Regions from separate parts of the Homo sapiens genome. Here region 1 is linked to region 2. Evidence: promoter capture Hi-C in human tissues and cell types (Jung and others, 2019). All regions are on one chromosome and are shown on one strand. Each heading gives the region's core, a stretch centred on a gene start or on the middle of the fragment in contact. The rest is flanking DNA. Distances are from core to core; before and after follow the strand shown.

Evidence for each region. The method cuts DNA at HindIII sites, captures the fragments that hold promoters and counts their contacts. A contact is called where the count stands out against the background at its distance.
Region 1: a fragment that was not itself captured here is called in contact with the fragment with the promoter of PDSS1 in region 2 in 1 of the 25 tissues and cell types used here (hippocampus).

What each region holds. Positions count from the first base shown.
Region 1 is chr10:26,841,845-26,846,210 of GRCh38, forward strand. All of the region lies in intron 1 of ABI1 (abl interactor 1), which reads right to left. Among named protein-coding and RNA genes, the nearest start is that of ABI1, 17 kb to the right of the region's middle. The HindIII fragment of the contact is 4,695 bases long and covers 598-4,366 here.
Region 2 is chr10:26,695,675-26,699,546 of GRCh38, forward strand. It overlaps PDSS1 (decaprenyl diphosphate synthase subunit 1), which reads left to right and starts at 2,027. Exons shown (of 12, transcript NM_014317.5): 1 at 2,027-2,166. The coding sequence starts at 2,038. RefSeq lists a silencer at 1,700-2,319 and an enhancer at 2,194-3,082. The HindIII fragment of the contact is 21,055 bases long and covers 1-3,872 here.

The DNA of each region.
Region 1 (4,366 bases), core at 1,695-4,194, 150 kb after region 2:
ATTCAGGTTGTTTCCACAGCTTGGCTAATGTAAATAACACTGCAATGAACATGGGAGTGCAGATATCTTTATAAGGTGATCTCACTTCCTTTAGGTATATGCCCGATAAGGAATTGCTGGGTCATATAGTACTTCTATTTTTCATTTCTTTAGCAACCTCCATACTATTTTCCATCATGGCTGTACCAATCCACACTCCCACCAACAGTGTACAAGGGGTCCATTTTCTCCACACCCTCGCCAACATTTGTTATCACTTCACTTTTTTATGACAGCCACCCTAAGGGGTGTGAGGTGACGCCCACAGTGGTTTTGATCTGCATTTCTGCATGGCTAATGCTGTTGAGTACCTTTTCATATACCTGTCAGCCATCCTTATGTCTTCTTTGAAAAAACATCTGTTCAAGTCTTTTGCCCATTTTCTAATCAGATTATTTTTCTATTATTGAATTATATGAGTTCTTCATGAATTTTAGATATTAATCCCTTATCAGATAAATGGTTTGCAAATATGTTTTCCCAGACCATAGGTTGTTACATTTTGTTGATTGTTTCCTTTGTTTTGAAGAAGCTTTTCAGTTTGACGTCATTCCATTTATTTATTTTTGCTTTTATGGCCTAAGCTTTTAGTGTGGAATCCAAAAAGAAAATTCTAGCTGGACACCAGCACTATCTGGTGAGCTTTTTAAAAAATTCCAGAGCCTGAGACCCAATCTAACCCTCTCCCCCTAAAAAGATGCCAATTTCATTGGTCTGGGGAGAGGCCATTAGCTATTGATATACCAGTACAAAAATGTGTACAATTAAACAAGAAAATTCAAAATACAAAAATCAGGGTTTTACCATATAATATAAAAGATAAAGGCAAGACATTAATATACAGACCACAGAGTACTACATAATAAATTAGAGCCACAAGAGGCTAGGCGCAGTGGCTCACGCCTGTAATCCCAGCACTTTAGGAGGCCGAGGAGGGTGGATCACAAGGTCAGGAGATCAAACCATCCTGGCCAACATGGTGAAACCTCACCTCTACTAAAAATATAAAAATTAGCCGGGCATGGTGGTGTGCACCTATAGTCCCAGCTACTCGGGAAGCTGAGGCAGGAGAACTGCTTGAACCCGGGAGGAGGAGGCTGCAGTGAACCAAGATCTAGCCACTGCACTCCAGCCTGGGCGACAGAGCAAGACTCCATCTTAAAAAGTAAATAAATAAATAATAAATTAGAGCCACAAGTTTGGCTCTGGCTTTTGCATGAATCCACAAAGATAAAGGAAAAAAGATTATATGATTTATAGTATCCATAGGTCAAAATATCTTGGTGGGGTCCAGCATGGTGGCTTACACCTGTAATCCCAGCACTCTGGAAGGATGAGGTGGGCAGATCACCTGAGGTCAGGAGTTCAAGACCAGCCTGGCCAACACAGTGAAACCCTGTCTCCACTAAAAAATACAAAATTAGCCGGGGTGTGGTGGCATGCACCTGTAGTCCCAGATACTTGGGAGGCTGAGGCAGGAGAATCGCTTGAACCTTGGAGGCGGAGGTTGTAGTGAGCTGAGATCATGCCACCACACTCCAGCCTTTATGACATAGCAAGACTCCGTCTCAAAAAAAAAAAAAAAAAAAAAAAAAAAAAAAAATATATATATATATATATATATATATATATGTAGAAGCAAAGCTTTTCCTAAAACTTCCATGTGACTATAAAAGGAATGTATTGCAATTCTCCTCAGTGATGTAAATATTAATATATCACACATTCTTCCCACCTTGCAGCACCGTACCTCCTCACCCAAAAAGCAAAAATGAGAGTGGCAGGATTTTCATAGAGATAGTACCATGCTGCCTTTCTTCTTCTTCTTTGTGGTAGTGGGGCAAGGTAGGAGAGGTAGGATGGGTGGAAGAAATACCCAATTGAGTTGAAAAAAAAAATAGCTCTATATACCACAAGACATTAATAAACACTAACAATAAAGCCACTCATACAAGCAGTCCCCAAGTTATGACAATTAGCTCATACAAAAGTGATTGATTCAGACCTATAACTCATTTATCTTATATTTAACCACTCATCCAGTGGTTTCTGTTGATTATGCCAAACGTGTCTAGACAAATGAACAGAATATGTCAGGACATAGCAAAAGCACAATTTCATCTTACCAGTGTTAAATTTAAAACACGGTTTCTATTTTCAAATCTGGGAAACACTGATCCGATCTTCTACAGTTTAGTGACAGCAGTTCAAGTATGTTTTTGACTAAGACTTCATCTCCTCCACCTTCCCTGGCACTTGACACTACTCACAGCTCTCCCAAACATGCCTTGCTATCTTTCTGTTCCTACTACCTATATATATCCCTTGCCTCCCAATCCCCCTTCCCCTCAACTCTTTAAATTAATGACTCGGCTAAACTCATTCTTTAGGAGAAACTTTGCCTGAGAACCCCCAAACACTACTGTTCCTTAGAATTCTCTCTAAAAGTTCCTTTCAAAAAGAGATCATTTTCAACCCACGTCATATGTATTTGAAATTTATAAAGACTACACATATAAAAATACCAACAATCTGTAATGCAGAAGGTTATGATAGAACATCAAAATTAACATCAAAAGACATGCACCTCATGCCACAACAGTATATAGCCAGAGAAACTGGAATCCCTTTCCTCTCCTCTTCCCTCTTCCCTTCCCTGTTCTGCCCACGCAGCCAGCTAGCAGTCAAGCTTTATTCCTATTCTCCAACCCACTGCTCTGCCAATCAATTCAATTGTGGAGGAGTAAAAGCTGGAAAGTGTCAGAAACCAACTGTGTACTAACAGCTGAAAAAGAGGGGGTCTATAGATTCACTTCTGTGACTGCAAATTACCTTCTGTAGGCGCATTAGCTTTATGCTAGGGGAAAATAGATACCGGTTAAATAAGCCTTCTTTGGGTTCTCCTTTTCCCGCAGCCACCCATATCTCCTTCACCAAGGCTTGCTGATTCTTATCTTCCTTTTCAATCTTACTACAGCTATCTCAATTCATGAAATACTCTTTACAGTGAGACAAATGTGACAGTCCTCTAACTGGTCACTGTCCATCCAGTCTCTCCCTTCTCCAATCCATCCCGTACCAATGTAAGATGAATCTTCCCAAAGCACATCCTTTGTACAAAAACTGGAAAGGCAGAAAACAAGCATACAGTTTGAGGGGAGAGGATAATAGCAGTATGGGGAGAAGAAGAAGAGACATTTTAGGTTTGACTTTTAATACAACTGTATTGACCCTTTTATAGGAACATATTACCTAAATGCTTTAAAAAAAAAAAAAGCTGCTTGACATATTCTCTTTCCATAAGCAAACTTCTGACTGCCCAAACTAAAATCAAAACCCTTTCAAAAATAACAATTATTTTTCTTCCATACAGAACATTTCCTCATTTAACTATACATACTATAGACCAATTTTCTTTTTCTTAGATTTAAGGCTTTTCAGTGATTTCTACATAGCTTATAAATAATATAGACACAAAGCAGGGCATGATGGCTCACACCTATAATCGCAGCACTTTGGGAGGCTGAGGCGGGCGGATCACCTGAGGTCAGGAGTTCGAGACCAGCCTGACCAATATGATGAAACCCCATCTCTACTAAAGCTACAAATACTAGCTGGGTATGGTGGCATGTGCCTGTAATCCCAGCTACTTGGGAGGCTGAGACAGGAAAATCACTTGAACCCGGGAGGTGGAGGTTGCAGTGAACCAAGATCGTGCCATTGCACTCCATCCTGGACAACAAGAGCGAAACTCTGTCTCAAAAATAATAATAATAATATAGACATCATACCACCACATCATAATACCTAACAGACAGTCTTCCATAGAGTAGGCAATTAACTATTTGTTGAATGAATCTTTCTCTATTTCAGTTCAACAAATCCCAATAGCCTCAAATACTCCTCTTTTTAGAAAAGAAAAATAATAGTCACAGTCTACCATGATGAGTTCAGGCACTGAAGATTTTAGAAAAAATGGACAAGCACAGTGGCTCATGCCTGTAATCCCAGCACTTTGGGAGGCCGAGGCAGGCAGAGCACCTGAGGTCAGGAGTTCAATACCAGCCTGGCCAACATGGTGAAACCCCGTCTCTACAAAAAAATACAAAAAGTAGCCAGGCACGGTGGTGGGTACCTGTAATCCCAGCTACTGAGGCTGAGGCAGAGAGACTTGCTTGAACCTGGGAGGTAGAGGTTGCAGTGAGCTGAGATCACACCACTGCACTCCAGTCTGGGCGACAGAGTGAGACTCCGTCTCAAAAAAAAAAAAAAGATTTTAGAAAAACCATCACCAATTGCTACCATCACCTCTAGACTAGCCACCCTC
Region 2 (3,872 bases), core at 777-3,276:
CTCAGATAGTGTTTTTAACTTCCTCAACTCATGCTTGGCCTAGTGGGGTCAAAAGAACTACTTGTGAATTCCGTATGTCCAATTGGTAGCTTACTGTTTTTTCTCAAGAGTTTAGCTATACAGTAACGTTGGAAGTCTTGAGGAACTTCAGCTGCTGTCCCTACTTAGCCTTGCAATACTACGGCATCTTTTTTTCTTTTTCTTTTTTTTAAAGACGGAGTCTCACTTTGTCACCTAGGCCGAAGTGCAGTGGCACAATCTCGGCTCACTGCAACCTCTGCCTCCCAGGTTCAAGTGATTCTCTTGCCTCAGCCTCCTAAGTGGTTGGGATTACAGAACATGCACCACCATGCCCAACTAATTTTTGAATATTTAGTAGAGACGGGTTTCACCATGTTGGCCAGGCTGGTCTCAAACTCCTGACCTCAAGTGATCCACCTGCCTCGGCCTCCCACAGTGCTGGGATTACAGGCTGAGCCACTGTGCCCCCGACCTACAGCATCTTTTTAAGAGCAATGTTTTCTGTTTTAATGTGGCCAAGCAATCTCTAAACGAACATGGTCTGACAAAATTGTGTAGTGACATACTTGACAACTGGGTGAGCTTGAGTGTGATACTTATTTGACCATACGGTATTTCCTCTATATGTTTCCTTATCTTTATATACAAAAAAGGGCAAATGATAATGTCTTAGTCATAGGATCAAGTACAACCCAAGTGCTTACTGCTACACTCTACTTGGCAAATTCCACCTTATGAATGTTTCTTAATATATAAACCTAATCTAAACCAAGATAAGCTACAGGTGCATATTAACAATCTTTACTCATAAAGCTTTGCATATTTTTACATACTATTCTTCAAGATGGAAAAAACACCATCAAACTGGCTTATTTTCATAGATGTCTTTATATAGTCTATGATGTCTTCATTCCATAAAAAATCCACACGATTAAATATGAAATTAATGTACCCAGCTATGAGGCTACCGCATTCTTTAACCCAAGAACAAGAAAATACATGAATCAGAGAACTGCAATTACCTACTTGCTGGTCTATTTCCTCATTAGAGTGAATTTTTTGAGGACTAAATTGCATTTCTCTATCTCTAATGCTTACCCCCTATCTCACTGGCTCTGTGTGTTTGAGTGCATGCGCTGAATGTTTATATCACTTAATTTCTGTTCGGAACACGCTGTCTCTTAGCACCAGTAGATCTGGCCTTAGAGCTAAGGAAAGAAGGCCTTTCTAACCCATAAGGGGTACTAATCCTGTACAGACTCCAATATCTCCCGGGCTGGGTACACGCAGGTTCACACCCAGGTGTGAGCAAGATTGCCAAACTATACCTATAAGGCGTTTGGAGGGGAGAGTCCAAAAGTCACGAGACCCGGCTAATTTAGCTACTATTTCACAACAACCCTGATCGTGGTCGGACTTGTTTCTAGGAAGATGCGATGGGCTGGAACTTCCTTCAAGAACAGATTGCAAAAGGCAGCCGACCAGGGCGTGTCAGGTCACTGCCAAGGGAAGCAGCAGCGGAAACCGTCGCCTCCGGCTTAGGCTGCGGAGCGGGAACCCCATTCTCTGAGTTATGTTTCTGCCTAAACACGCAGAACAAAAGAGTTCGTGGCTGCAAGGGTGGCGCGCGGTAGTATTTCTTGCTAATAAAAGGTCCCCACAGGGACATTTTTGCTATGACTGCAGGCGTGGCCAGTCTCCCTGCACAGCTTCCGGGAAGAGGTGGGGATAGGAGGCTCGCCCCGGGGAAGGTTACGCTCGGGGTCCCCAGACCAGGTCTCCGCACGCCCCTGCCCCGTCGCCTCCCGGGAGCGGCTGCAGTCCCCGTTGGCTGCAGACGGGCAGACACCCGAAGTGTCCGCGCCGGCAGCCGGACCGCAAGCGAGGAAGAGCGAACCGCGCTCCCGGGCCTGGCCGAAGCGCTTCCTGTGCCAGGTTTCCGGCTCCGGGTCCCGGGAGGAGGATCGCGGGCCAGAGGCGGAGCCGCCGCCCTGCCGCGACTTTCAGACTCCGACCATGGCCTCGCGCTGGTGGCGGTGGCGGCGCGGCTGCTCCTGGAAGCCGGCGGCGCGGAGCCCCGGGCCCGGCTCCCCCGGCCGTGCGGGACCGTTGGGGCCGAGCGCCGCTGCCGAAGTCCGCGCGCAGGTGAGGTTGGGAGGCGCGCGCCCGGCGGGGCTCAGAGGTCACGGCTCCAATGACAGCAGTGGGCGGAATGAATGGGAGCGGGGAGCACGTGCGTCGCGACGCGGGGGCGCGCGGGGTAGCTCCGGGGTAGCTCCGGGGTGGGACTCCGGAGCTGAGGGGTGCTCGCGGTGGGACGGAGCCGCGCGTTGGACTGAAGTAGGGGCGCCCTACACGGGGTTGCAGAAAGCGGTGTCCTGGGGACCCCGGGAGCGTTTTGGGGGGTGGAGAAAGCGGTGGGATCCGTGTCCTGGGGGAAGCGCAGGAGCGATCAGATTGACCGCTGCTATATGGACAAGGTTAAGCCTGGAGAGCGACTGCAGCTATTTACTTTGGAGTTAGAGGAAGACAGATCTTGCCTGAAATTTTAGAGCCAAAGTGCTCAGAGCTCTCTCCGAGAAACGGAGGATCGAATCGGCCTCGGAATAGTCCGAAAAGGTCTTGTGGAGAATGCAGGGCTGGTGCTAGGGTGGACCGGACCTTAGTTGTCCAGCAGTGGCCTCGGGAGGAGAGCACACCTGGATGGGGCTGGAATGACACTGGAAGGAGAAAGGCCCGAGGCCGTCAGGAGGAGAGAAACCCTGGAGTCATCTAAAGTCAGAATCTCAGCGATAGCCCATTCTTTCAGGGTCTCCTCTGCTGCCTTTGGGTTCCGATCTCCTTTTTCTCCCTTTCTGGTCAGTTTAGCCCCTGTAAATGGACACTGTGAGCCCTTCTGCGCTTTGTAATGATTCTCAGTGTGCCATGGGGTAGGCCCATGCTATTAGCATAACCGTGCAAAATCTATGGACTCACTGTTACTTAAGTTTATTTGAATTTAGTACTCTTTTAATTCAGATTTGGTATACTTTATGTGTCCGTGTTCTCATCAAACATCATTTCCCAGTATGAAATATATAACACTTATAAATATCTACTTTGTACCAAAGTAGATGCGTATCACAAATTATCCAAAACAAGGCTTGGGCCAGGCACAGTGGCTCACACCTGTAATCCCAGCACTTTGGGAGGCTGAGGTGGGAGAATCGGTTGAGGCCAGGAGTTTGGGACCAGCCTAGGCAACATAGCAAGACTCTGTCTCTATAAAAAATAGAAAAAATTCACCAGGTGGGGTGGTGCATGCCTGTAGTTCTACCTACTCAGGAGCCTGAGGGAGGAGGATTGTTCGATCCCAGGAGTTCAAGATTACAGTGAGCTGTTTATTGTGATAGTGCCAGTGCACTCCAGCCTGGGCAACAGTGTGAGACCCTATCTCTAAAAAATCTAAAGCAAAAAAGACGTTTGGAGACCAAGTGGCAGCTGGGCAACTAGACAATGCTAGAGAGTAAAGAGAACAGAATATGGGGGGTGAGGGGCATGTGGGAGAAGAGGCTTAGAGGAGGAAGGTAGGCTTTGCTGTGATCCATTTCAGGACTGTTCTCTCCAGACTTCAGATATTTCTAGTTCCACAGAAGAAGCCAGTATTTGAAGAGATGGGTGCATCCACCCTCTTATGCCACTACATGCTTCTTCTTCTTCTTCTTTTTTTTTTTTTTTGACACAGAGTCTCACTCTGTCGCCCAGGCTGGAGTGCAGTGGCGGAATCTCGGCTCACTGCAAACTCCACCTCCCAGGTTCAAGCGATTCTCCTGCTGCAGACTCCCAAGTAGCTGGGATTACAGGCGTACACC